Regions from separate parts of the Homo sapiens genome. Here region 2 is linked to region 1. The links are contacts of gene promoters, found by promoter capture Hi-C in blood cells and fetal thymus (Javierre and others, 2016). All regions are on one chromosome and are shown on one strand. Each heading gives the region's core, a stretch centred on a gene start or on the middle of the fragment in contact. The rest is flanking DNA. Distances are from core to core; before and after follow the strand shown. Region 1 holds the start of ZNF335 (zinc finger protein 335). Region 2 holds the start of PIGT (phosphatidylinositol glycan anchor biosynthesis class T).

Region 1 (5,789 bases), core at 2,295-4,794:
CAGGTGGGTCAGTTGAGGTCAGGAGTTCAAGACCAGTCTGGCCAACGTGGTGAAATTGTATCTCTACTAAAAATACAAAAAAAATTAGCCAGGTGTGGTGGCACACGCCTGTAGTCCCAGCTACTAAGGAGGCTGAGGTGGATCGCTTGAACCTGGGAGGCAGATGTTGCAGTGAGCTGAGATCACACCACTGCACTCCAGCCTGGGTGACAAAAAAAAAATAATAATAAATAAATAAATTTTAAAAACCCTGAATGCCACGGAAGCCGCCATGGCCCTGGAGAAAAATCTGAACCAGGCCGCTTTTGGATCTTCAAGCCCTGAGTCCTGCCCGCACAGACCTCCATCTCTGTGACTTCCTAGAGAGTCACTTCTTAGATGAGGAAGTGAAACTCATCAAGATGGGCGACCACTTGACCAACCTTCCCAGGGTGGCTGGCCCCCAGGCTGGCCTGGGTGGGGTTCTCTTGGAAAGGCTCACCCACCCTCAAGCACGACTGGGAGCCTTAAGGGCCCCTCCCAAAGTATCAGGGCTTCTGCCTAAGCCTCTCCCTCCAGCCACTAGGCAGCTTTTTAATTACCCTGGAGCCTTCTTCCAAGCCTTGATCCAAATGGAAATAAAGCTCTGTGGAAGCAAATTAAAAAAAAAAACAAAACATGACTCAGAAAGCACACACACTGCCTGGCATCTTCCCTCCTCTTTCCCTCTTGGCTCTTCTACATTTTTCTCAATGGTCCACTTTAATGTCCTCTGACCCAGAGCCCCTTCACTGCTTCCATAAGTCTCTCTAAGCTGGGGCCATGGAGTTCGAGACCAGCCTGGGCAAAATAGCTAGTCCCCATCTTTATAAACAATTTTTTAAAAGATAAAACAAATTTTAAAGAGAAAACAAAAAAATAAAGCTGAGACCAGAACTAGACTGCACTCTCTGGAGGAACAAACCCTGGATTCACAGGCAGAATACAAGGATTTGCCTGCTTGTCTTTGTGATGGAAGGGTTCTGGTATGTTGTTTCCAAGGAGCCGAGACCTTGGGCTGTTAGCTTTCCCCCTCTGGGCCTTGGGCTCCTCTTCGGTTTCATGATGAGTCTGTTTCATCTGTACCATGACATTCTGCAATCTTGTGATGCTGTGGCAAAGGCCAGGATTAAGGTTGAGTCTTTTTTTTTTCTTTTTAATAGACAGGGTCTCACTCTCTCACCAAAGCCAGAGTGCAGTGGCGCACTCATAGTTCACTGCAGACTCTACCTCCTAGGAGGCTTCAGTCTTAGTGGGGAAGGGAATGAGGGTACTGTGGGGCTACTTCGGAGTACCCCAAACTTGGGAGAGGTGACTTGGTCAGATGTAGGATGCACCCTACTACCCTACTGGCATGAGGGGGCAGATGCTTCTGTAGGGCTGAGGAATGGGGTCCACACGGGAAAACTGCCTGGAGATAGTAAAACCAACATGTCATCATGCCAGTGCTGACCTAGCTCTTCAGAGCTGCTCTGGGGCCTGGTCCTGCTGGTTGCAAGGGATAGGGGATGAGGGTCCTAACCTATCCAGAGGCCTCCTGTTCCATTCCCTCAACCCAAAAGGGAAACCTAGGAAAGAAAACTTTACCTAAGAAAAGGACCAGATGAATCCCCTCATACACAAGTGCACACAAATAACAGCTCAAAGCACCCTTTGTCCTTTTTATTTTTATTTATTTATTTATTTTTTGAAGCGGAGTTTCTCTCTTGTCGCAATGGCACAATCTCGGCAACCTCCGCCTCTGGGCTTCAAGCGATTCTCCTGCCTCAGCCTCTCGAGTAGCTGGGACTACAGGCGCGCGCCACCACACCCAGTGAAATTTTGTATTTTTAGTAGAGACAGTTTCACCATGTTGGCCAGGCTGGTCTCGAACTCCTGACCTCAAGTGATCCACCGGCCTCAGCCTCCCAAAGTGCTGGTTATTACAGGTGTGACCCACCGAGCCCGGACCTTTTCTCCTTATTAATAGGTCTTCTCCTTAGGACTTTTTGTTTGTTTGTTTGAGACAAGAGTTTCCGCTGTTGTTCCCCAGGCTGGAAGGCAATGGCGTGATCTCGGCTCACCGCAACCTCTGCCTCCCGGGTTCAAGCTATTGTCCTGGCTCAGCCTCCTGAATAGCTGGGATTACGGCATGCGCCACCACGCCCAGCTGCTTTTGTATTTTTCGTACAGATGGGGTTTCTCCATGTTGATCAGGCTGGTCTCAAACTCCCAACCTCAGGTGATCCGCCCGACTCAGCTTCCCAAAGTGCTGAGATTACAGGCGTGAGCCACCGCGCCCAGCCTGCTTAGGAGTTTTTTTGAGATTTTTTTCCCCCAAAATTTGTATCTTTCAATTAAGGAAAATAGCCTATGGAACTACAGAGACTTAGGGACAAAAACCAGAGCGCCTTACTCCCTCTTGTGCTCTTCCACTGCAAACTGCTAAAAGTCTTAAAACAGAAGGTGACATTTCCGGAGGAAGGACATACCTTAAGGGCAGCTGACTTTTAATTAAAATTTTTTTTCTTTCTCCACTTTTAAAGGATAGGTAGTTGACTTGTATTTATTTATTTTTTGAAAGAGGGTCTCGCTCTGTCGCCCAGGCTGAAGTGCAGTGGTGTGATCACGGTTCGCTGCAGCCTCAACCTCCCAGACTCAAGCGATCCTCCCACCTCAGCCTCCCGAGCAACTGGGATTATAGGCACGCGCCACCATGCCTGGCTAATTTTTCTTTTTTTTCTTTTTTTTGTAGAGATGGGGTCTCGCTCTTTTGCCCAGGCTGGTTTGGAACTCCTGGGATCAAGCGATTCTCCTGCCTTGGCGTCCCAAAGTGTTGGAATTACAGGCGTGACTCACAGCGCCCGGCCTCAGCTCTATTAATGTTAACAAATATGTATACAAACCTAAGGGACAAGCATTAACTTCTTTCCATTTCCCCGACTCCTGCCATCCGTACTTAGCTCCTGAGTCCCTTTATTGGATGTGATTTTGGACCAGCCCTTCCCATACCCAGACCTCAGTTTCCCTATCTGTACAATAATTATACATTCCCTTCCCAACAAAACACATCAAACCTAACGGGCAGAGCTCGATTGGGTTGCAGCAGCGCGCTAAGTAATAAGTAATGAGTCAGGTAAAATGACTGACAACATGAATTCCTCTTTGGCCAAGCCAAAGTCGCCCGCGGCCACACGCTCTTCCGGGCTGTTGTAGGAGGGGCGCGGCCAAGCCACCGGGAGCCACGCCCCCCACTGGGAGCCACGCCCCAAGAGAGCGGGGCGCGCATTCGCCGCGCCCAACCCTGCGGCCTAGGGAAGGGACCAGAATGACGTCACAACCACTTCCTACGTAACACTCCGCCGAGATAAAGTAGTCCCCAAACCATAGTGGGCTCAGTGCCAAACACCGGGCGACGTATAAAGTCCCAGAGTCTGTTGAGACCCGATTATGGTTTTGAGGCCTCGGAGCGACCTTCCGGAACACTGAAAATGTGTCTTTCCCGGGGCCAGCGGGGGAAGTAGTTCCGGCCTACAATAGGCCGATGGGTTCCTCCGCAGCGGAGGAAAGAGGATGGCGACCTCGTCGATGCCGGAGTCAGAGAGGAACGTGGCTACGAAAGCCTCGGGTGAGCTTCGGGTAGAGTTAGGCGGCCCCACCGTACCCTGCCGTGGAGTGAGGTCACACTGCGGGGATACCCGGAGGCGAGGTCCCAGGCCGGCGGGGCTGTCCGAACAGGGCCCCGGGGTCCCAGGCCCTTTAGTCGCTCTCGCACTTGCCTGAGCGGAAACCCGGCGCCACCACAAGATGGCGTCGGGCCTGGAGCACAGGCAGCGCCGGGGACAGCCCCAAATCGCCAGGCCCCGAGACCGTCGCTGTCAGCCGCCTCCGCAGGGGAACCGGGGGGGAGCGAACCACTGACCCAGGGGGCCAGCGGGCTGTACCACCGGCCCTGCAACCCGGGGGGACGCGGGGGCCGAAGGGCTGAACCACTGGGCCCGGATGGGGCTCACAGAGCGGAACGCTCCACGAGAATCGTGGGGGCGAGGGAAAGGGTCAAGATTACCAGCCATTGACCACCCTCCCGGGAAGGGCCTTAGCCTGGGAAGCACAGCTTCTCCGTCAAGTTTTTCCCGAGCTCCCCTCGCAATACACCAGGAAGCTCCGCCCCGTCGGAGACTCAATCTTCGCATCTGCAAAATGGGCGCAGGGGTGCAAATGGGTGGCCGTGGTTGCCGGGGCTGGGGAGATGGCCCACTTGTTCCAGCCACGGTCACCTCTCTTCTCAGAGTGAAGTTCCCAGACCCTACGCCCCGCTGTCAGGCAGCCCGCCGATCAGATGGAGGAGAACGAGGTGGAGAGCAGCAGCGACGCGGCCCCTGGGCCTGGCCGGCCCGAGGAGCCCTCTGAGAGCGGCCTGGGTGTGGGCACCTCAGAAGCCGTGTCCGCCGACAGCAGCGACGCCGCGGCCGCCCCGGGGCAGGCAGAGGCCGATGACTCTGGCGTGGGGCAAAGCTCGGACCGCGGCAGCCGTTCTCAGGTATGGACCCGGCTGGACGGCGTGGGTGGAGGCAAGGACCGCGAGCAGCAGTGCCTGACAGCCAAGAGGAAACAAGGCTTGTTTGTAGCTAATACTTGGTGTTTCTGGTTTACTGTGAGCCAGGCACCAAGCCAAACCCCTAAAATGGATTTTCTCATTTGAGCTTCATACCTTCTAAGACACATACCATTTTTTCCCACATCTTATAGAAAAGGATGCCGAGGTACAGAGTGCAGACAGAGCCAGGATTCAAATCTAGGCTGTGGTCTTAGCTACTATACTACCCACAGTCCTCACACTTTGAGAGGCAGATGTCTAGGCCAGGAGTGGTAGCTCATCGCCTGTAATCCCAGCACTTTGGAAGGCTGAGGTGGGAGGATCACTTGAGCCCAGGAGTTGGAGACCAGCTTGGGCAAATAGCGAGACCTCATCTCTACAAAAAAAAAAAAAAAAACGCAAGTGCCCTGGGTTAAGACTGGGTCCTGCCTCCAGTTTACTGGGAGACCTCTTTGAGCCTCAGTATCCCGGCTAAAGTAAAGCAGAAATACTTGCTTTCAAGGGTGCTTGATTGTGAGCTCCCACCAGACATCCTCTTGCAAACATTTTGTAAACCATCTCCTCCTGGCTGTGCCACTTCCTAGCCGTGTGATCTTGAGCAAGCTACCCAACATCTAGCTCTGTTTCCTCGTCTGTAAAGTGGGAATGGTAAATATACCTGCCTCATAGAGTTTTTGTGAGGATGAAATGAATTAACATATGCAAAGCTAATAATTAAAACAGTGCTCAGCACATTGTAAGCACTCAGTAAGTATTAGCCATTCTTATATGCAAGATAATGGTCATATTCAGTATATCACGTGATAGAAGTACACAGCAGTGGTCATCACTTTGGGGTCCTGGGGTTTCATTAGTTCAGCAGAGATGGGGGCCTACCATGTGCTCAGCGTGTGCTGGGCCCTGGAAATACAGCAGAGGAAAAGACAAGTTTGGTCCAGGCCCTTGTGGAGGGCACAGTCTGGCATGGAGGCTGTTAAAAGGCACAATGAACCCCACAGTGGTGTGGTGCTGGGGACACAGGCAGCTGCAGCACTGAGGATGAAGAAGTCCTGACTTGGCCTCAAAGCCAGCATTGACTTCCTAGAAGAGGTACCAGCTAAATGGTGGTGAGAAGGCTGGGTAAGATTTAGCCATAGGGTGATGCTGGGAAGAGTTTCAGGCAGAGGGAACGATTTATGCAAAAGCCCAAAGAAAA
Region 2 (6,523 bases), core at 3,751-6,250, 560 kb after region 1:
ATCCAGGTCCTCTCAGGATATTCTGCTCTTTCCCTTGGTAAGGGAACTGAACACAACTGTAATTAATTAACTGACACCTGCCCTAGCTAGTAGACTTATATTTCTTGAGTGCAGTGTCCTCTGTCTTATTCAACACTCTATGCCTGGCACTTAGTATGAATTCAAAAGTATTTGGTTGATTAAGCAAATGCATGAACTAACTCCATTTTTCACATCATCTCATCCAATTTGCTAAGTATACTCTATTTTTCAGATGTGGATGCTGAAGCTTGGGGAGTTTAGGAACCTACCCAAAATCGTAGAGCTTGGAATAGCTACAGTCAGCAGCATATGACTCTGGAAATCTGGTCTAAATACAACCCAATCATCTAACGGCAAAGACGTGGGATTGTGAGTCTTTTCTCTGTAGCCGTTGCAACCCAGCAGTCCAACCAACCACCCACTCACCATTCTCTGGGGGTCTCTTCCACTTGAGCTGGATGTTGAGGTTTCGAGAGTTGTTGATCATGGCGGTGTCAAGCAAGTCATAGATGGCATAGGTCTTCCGAGTGCCTAGGATGACGTCCTGATATGTAGTGGTCGGGGGTGGGTGCACCTCTAATGTCTCGTTGTCCTGGGGACACAAAGGCAGGGCTAAGAAGCAAGCAGAGAGGGTAGGCTGGTCCTGGGGACCAGCGGTGTGTTTGTGTGTGTGGCTGGAGACCTTGTTACCTGGTTGTAGGTGGTGATGTCCACATAGACTCGGCTCTCTGAAGCCAGGGGGCAGGGCTCCGTGAGGGTTCGGGAGAACATCCGGAAGAGGGACCAGTCTGAGAAACAGAGCGCAGGGCTGAGCAGGGGCCAGGCCTAGGCCTAGTCCACATAGATAAGGCAGGGCTGGCATGGGTGGGTACAGATGAGTTGCCAAGGTAACTTACCTTTCTTTCCCTGCCCCGTGATGAAGGCATCAAATACAACTGACAGGGTCTGCCTCAGCTCCCAGGAGATGCTAGTACAGCGTGCATTCTATCACAAGGGCCAGATGGCAGCAGTGAGGGGGTATCACTCTCACCACACAGCCCCCAAAAAGACTCCTACTCAGACTCAATCCCTCATCTATGTATCTTCACATCCATCGATTTGCTACCACCCACTCCTGAGCACTTGACCTCGTGCCAGACCCCGTGCTGACAGCTGTATGTGCATCAGTTTGATAAACTATCACAACAACCCTAGGAGTGGATTCTACTATCAATGTCATGTGGCAGGGTGGGAAACCAAGCTCAGGGGAATGAAATGATTCACCCAAGGTTACGCCAGCTGGCAAGTGACTGAGCTAGCAATTGCACCCGCATAGCTATTGTTCTGAACCACTATTTTCCATGACAAATATTTATTCAGTGCTTGCTAGGCAACCACTGTTTTCTTGGTGCTTGGCCAATGCCCTGAATAACCGTCATCACATCTACCACTCAGTACTCACTCAGCCTGAGCCAGACACTGACCACATGCTTTACATGTACCTTCTCTGAGCCCCTGGATGGCAGCTTCCTCTACTCCCCATGACTTACTCTGCAAACAGGGCGGATATGCACTGCCTGGGAGTGGTAGCTGGTGTGGAACAAGCGATCTGCCTTCAGCAGCACAGAGAGGCCTGCCTGGAGGAGATGGAAAGAGATAAGAGAAGCCCTGTATGGAGCACTTGGCATGGGGCGCAGGTTCTCTATACACCCCCCGCCCCCGGCTGCCAGGCTCTGCGGCCTCACCTTGGAACTACAGGGCAAGAGCTTCTTCCAGGGGGTGAGGTTTTCGGTGCAGACCACCTCCCGCGGCAGCACAGCATAGCGCAGAAAGTAGTGGTCAGTGTCTGAGGGAGACAGAGGTCTGTCTGGGGTGGGCCTTGGGCTCTGACCCCTCGGGATCCACATTCCAGAGATGGGAATGACCCTCCTGCTCCCCACACCACCTCTAGCACCACAGTCTGGACAGTCCCAACTGGGAGTAGGACTCCCTTCTCTCCTTGGGAAAAGGCATGCAGAGATGGCACAGTATTGGGGGCCTGCACACACAGGGGACTTAGGATCTAGCCCAGGCTGAGGAAGCAGGAAACTGAGGGAAAAGGAGGCAAAGGTTTGGGCAGGAGGTAAGAGGAAGAAGGAAAGGGCTGTAGGGGTTATCTCACCATTGGCCAGACCCAGGGGTTTGAAGGAGGCAGTGGGAGTGACTGTGTTGGTGGAGTCGATGAAGTTGAGAGAGGCGCAGAAGATCCCTGAGAGGACATTACTGAGCTCCTTCCAAGATTTATCCACACTGGATAGAGACACAAATCCACTCACTGTCCTGGGGCTACCTCTGCTCCCTCTTTCAAAGTCCACAGCTGGCTGCTAAACCTATGATAGGAGGAGGCTGTATTCTTAACTATTAGACGGGCCAGTTGATGGAGCTGGAACATTGCTGCCCCCAGCCAGCCCACTTGCTGGGTCTCATCCTACTCAGCCCCTTCTTCCTCACTCTCCTCTGGACATCTCTGCATCCCCATGGGTCTCTGCTCAGGTGATTCTTCCTTCCTTGCAAGCCTTTGCTAACTTCTTTCTGCCTACCTTCATGATCCGGCTCCAGTGCTTACCTCCCCTCCACGAAGCCTTTCCTGCCCTCCTTAAGCACAGTCTCCTCTGTGCAGTCACGGTTCTGACCATCCAAGCATCTTACTAGGTCCCTCCTGGGAGATGGCTAGGTGGCAGCAGCATCGTGTCCTGACCACCTTTTCTCCCTAACTAGGCTGTAAGCAACTTGAGGACAAGGACCAGTCTGGGTCATCTATGTACTTCCCCTGACACCATGGAAAGCGCCTCATGTATCAGAGCTGAAATGAGCTCACTGATCTTCCTTGAATGTGCTGGGCTGGGCAAAACAATGCATACTACCCTGTGTATACTCTGGGAATAAAGGTAAGTCCTGATTCTACTATCATGGTGAGAAGTCTTATATCCAAAAAAGCTCACTGAACATGGGAAAAACAACTGTTCTAGGATTTCATAAAAACATCAAATTAAATTAATGTTCTTTTCTTGGAGAAATATCAAAAGAGATTTGCTCTCAGTAATAGAGAAAGCATAAAACTTAATAAGCACTAGAAAGAATTCTAAGCATTTGCTCCACATTTCAGGCAATTACGGGCTGAGGGAAGACAGTGACAGCAGAGTAGACAGGAAAGGGTAGGGGAGCCAGAGTTGAGGCAAGAGAGAAAGTCTTGGCAAGCTGGGGAGTTACTGCTTATTCCTTATTCCTTAGTGTTGTCCAGGAGCTTTTGATAATTCTATGTTCAGAGCTTTTCAACTGCTCCAATCCTTAAGCCTCAAATAAAAATGGCAAACTTGAAGCCGGAAAGCTCTACTCAAACCATAAACATGCTTCATTTGGTATGCACAACATTGACCCGCACAGCACTCAAAAAATTTTTAAATTACTTGCTGATATTTGAATTTGCCAATTTTCACATTAAATTCCAGATTTCTGGTATCTCTTGAAAAATGAGGCCAGGTGTGGTGGCTCTTGCCTGTAATCCCAACACTTTGGGAGGCTGAGGCAGGAGGATCGCTTGAACCCAGGAGTTCGAGACCAGCCTGGGCAATATAGTGAGACCTTGTTTCTACAAAAAATTTTTAGAAACATTTGACTCTGACCACATTAGGCCTCTATTCCCACATGGCAACAATCCATAGAAGCTGAGTGGCAGAGCTGTCCTCGTTAGAATGTCACACAAACTCTCTAGCCTGCCACAATTCCTGCTGCTCCTTTTTATTGCCCTAAAACTTGTTATATCATACTTGCACTATTGATTTCTTATAGTGGGATTAAGAGGAAAATGAGATATATTTCTCATTCCTGTGTTTGTCAATTTTAAAAATACCTTTATTCATTCCTTACCTGTGTGGCCCATGTAGACCTGTTTGCAACCACTGCACAGAAAGGTTCTATTCTAAACAGGATAGCCACAGCAGCCACTGGGAAATAGCGGTTTGTAGTAGGCACAGTAACTAGACCTGCCCCCTCCCAAACAAAAGCAGTTCCTCTAACACTGTGATGTAGCATCCTGTTGGCCAGTTGTAACCCACAGATATGTTATGGTTGGCTTTCGTGGTATTTATTATCATTTAAAAAATATTAATGAATGCCTTTTAAAAGGTTATCCAGTTGCCAGTTTTCTACTGCCTTACCTCCAAATAAGCATTAATTGTTTGCTATTTGCCTCTCCAGGGATATGCATGTGCTACCTCAGGTCTGAAAGTTTTAGGATTGGGAAGTTTATTCATCTGTGGTAACATTTCTTACTTCCAATGCCAGCTCTACCCCCATGGAATCGCTGCCTACTGGAAGTGCTGTCCCCAAGAGCAGTGGCAGGATGACAACACTCTCCCAGCCACATTCCCTCCATGGCCTGCAACAGGGCCCAAGGTGTGCACTCACTCAGTGACAGTGTCTTGGAACCAGACCCACAGCTCTGCACCTGATGGGGCCTGCAGGAAGGGTGGCCCCCAGTATCGGGTCCTCCAAAAGCCTTGTGTGAATGACAGGTGCAGCTCCCGTAGAGAATACTTGGAGATCAGCTGCCCCAGGGCTTTGGGAAAGAGCCTGTAATGGGACACTGGGGAAACGGGAGCAGGTGAGTGACGATCCCCACCTCGTCGGGGTCCACACCCAGGATCCCGAACTCTACCCAGGAATTAGGCCCCGCCCCCAAAGTTTGCCTTCATCCCACGGCCGGCCAGCCAGCAGGCACTACGGAAATCTTTCCCTGGTCAGATCTCGCGCCCTCACCTCCTTCCCGCTGAAGCTCCGAATCCCAGCGCGTGCGGAACTGGAATGTGGCGGCTACGTCCCCGGAAGGCAGCGGGGTGATGACAAGTTCCTCCCGCAGGCTGTCGCGTGGGGGTTCTGCAAGGCACCAGCCGCCGGGCCCCAGGAGCAACAGGACGAGCAGAGCAAGCGGCATAGCCGCCGCCATGCCTGCGGCTACTTCCGCCTACCCAGCGGCGCTCGGCCCCATGAAAAGCCGGTATCCAATAAGAAAGGCGTGTGAGAAGTGACTTCCGCTGTCGTCCCGGAAACCGGGATGCGGTTATCAGAGCGACCGCCTGCGCAGGTCGCGAAGATTCCCTCAGAGCTGGTGGGTCTAAGGGGGTACTGGGAGGACACGAGAGGGAGTAGGCAGGGCGAGTAACCAGCTTGAGGCCGCACCTAGTTCATGGCGTATTCCACCCACCAGGAAATGCTTAATAATATGAAGCTCCTTCACTGCCATTTTACCCATTTGATAGTTGAGGAAACATTGACTGAAAAAGATCAATTACTTTTGGGAAAACCATTGTGGTTTTAATTTGCATTTCCCAAAGTAAGAGGAACCTCCTGCCCCTCTTAGCTTCTAGTGTCTCCATTTGCTGCAAAACCCCCAAATAAGTGGTTCTTTTATTACGAAAATGTTCAAACAAAATTGAAAGAATGAGCACCTGTTACAATAAACCTATTTTCCACCACCTAGATTCTACTATTTACATTATACTATACTTGTACTTTACCACATATTTGTCTATACATCCATCATTCCATCTTGTGTTTTGGTGCACTTCAAAGTAAATTGCAGACATTAGTACACTTTCCTTTAAGTAGTTAAGCATGCATATAATTAACTAGAGTTCAGTATTCGATTGCATTTTGATGTAAAATTCACATACAGTGAAATGCACAAATCCAAAGTACACATTCACTGAGTTTTGACAAATGCACACACCTATGTAACCCGAACTCCTATCATGATACAGAACATTCCTAAAACCCCAGAAAATTAGCAATACCCTTTCCTAGTCAATCCCTGCTCCTCTATCACCTTCCAGAGGCAGTTAGTACCCTGATTTTTTCCCACAATAGATTAATCTGTTCCAGAACTAAATATAAATGAAATCATATAGTATGTATACTGTGTAAGGCTTTTTTTTTTCTCATGGGAAGAATGTTTTTGAGAATCATCCATGTTCTTGCATGTATCCACAATTCTTTTTATTACTGCGTAGTATTATTAATTTATCCATTCAACTCTTGATGGGCACTTTTAAAGTTTTTGGTTATTATTAACAAGGCTGCTGTCTGTGCAAGCTCCTTTGTAGACGTATATTTCTCATATCCTTTGGCCAGGTATTTAAGAGTGGAATTGCTGGGTCAGAGAGCAGGTGTATGTTTAATTTTATAAGAAACTGTCAGACCTTTCTCCAAAATGTATCATTTTATGTTTCCATAAACTATGAGTCTCCATTGTACCACATCCTGGTCAGCATTTGAAGTTTCTAATTTTTTGTACTTTTTAGTTTTGACCACTTGGGTATGTATGTAGTGTTTGCTCATTGTGGTTTTAATTTGCATTTCCCTGGTAACTAAAAATGTTAAGCATCTGTTCATGTGCTTATTTGCCATTTATTTTTTAATTTAATTTTTATTTTTTTGTGAAAGGTCTGTTAAAGTCTTCTGCACCCTCACCCCTTTGTTTACTGGC

The links. Contacts are between HindIII fragments. The CHiCAGO score rates a contact against its expected background, and 5 or more counts as called.
Region 2: the fragment with the promoter of PIGT here is called in contact with the fragment with the promoter of ZNF335 in region 1 in 1 of 17 cell types (erythroblasts); the score reaches 5.1 in erythroblasts.

What each region holds. Positions count from the first base shown.
Region 1 is chr20:45,969,958-45,975,746 of GRCh38, reverse strand. ZNF335 (zinc finger protein 335) reads left to right here and starts at 3,544. Exons shown (of 28, transcript NM_022095.4): 1 at 3,544-3,625; 2 at 4,287-4,537. The coding sequence starts at 4,337. It also overlaps the pseudogene FTLP1. RefSeq lists enhancers at 1-464, 2,923-3,142 and a silencer at 3,913-4,032. The HindIII fragment of the contact is 10,906 bases long and covers 1-5,789 here.
Region 2 is chr20:45,414,618-45,421,140 of GRCh38, reverse strand. It overlaps PIGT (phosphatidylinositol glycan anchor biosynthesis class T), which reads right to left and starts at 5,000. Exons shown (of 12, transcript NM_015937.6): 1 at 4,798-5,000; 2 at 4,447-4,624; 3 at 2,162-2,289; 4 at 1,746-1,846; 5 at 1,551-1,637; 6 at 918-1,005; 7 at 712-809; 8 at 448-613. The coding sequence starts at 4,984. It overlaps LOC107985405 (a long non-coding RNA gene), which reads left to right and starts at 2,758. Exons shown (of 2, transcript XR_001754640.2): 1 at 2,758-2,927; 2 at 4,324-6,523. RefSeq lists an enhancer at 1,472-1,531. The HindIII fragment of the contact is 8,427 bases long and covers 271-6,523 here.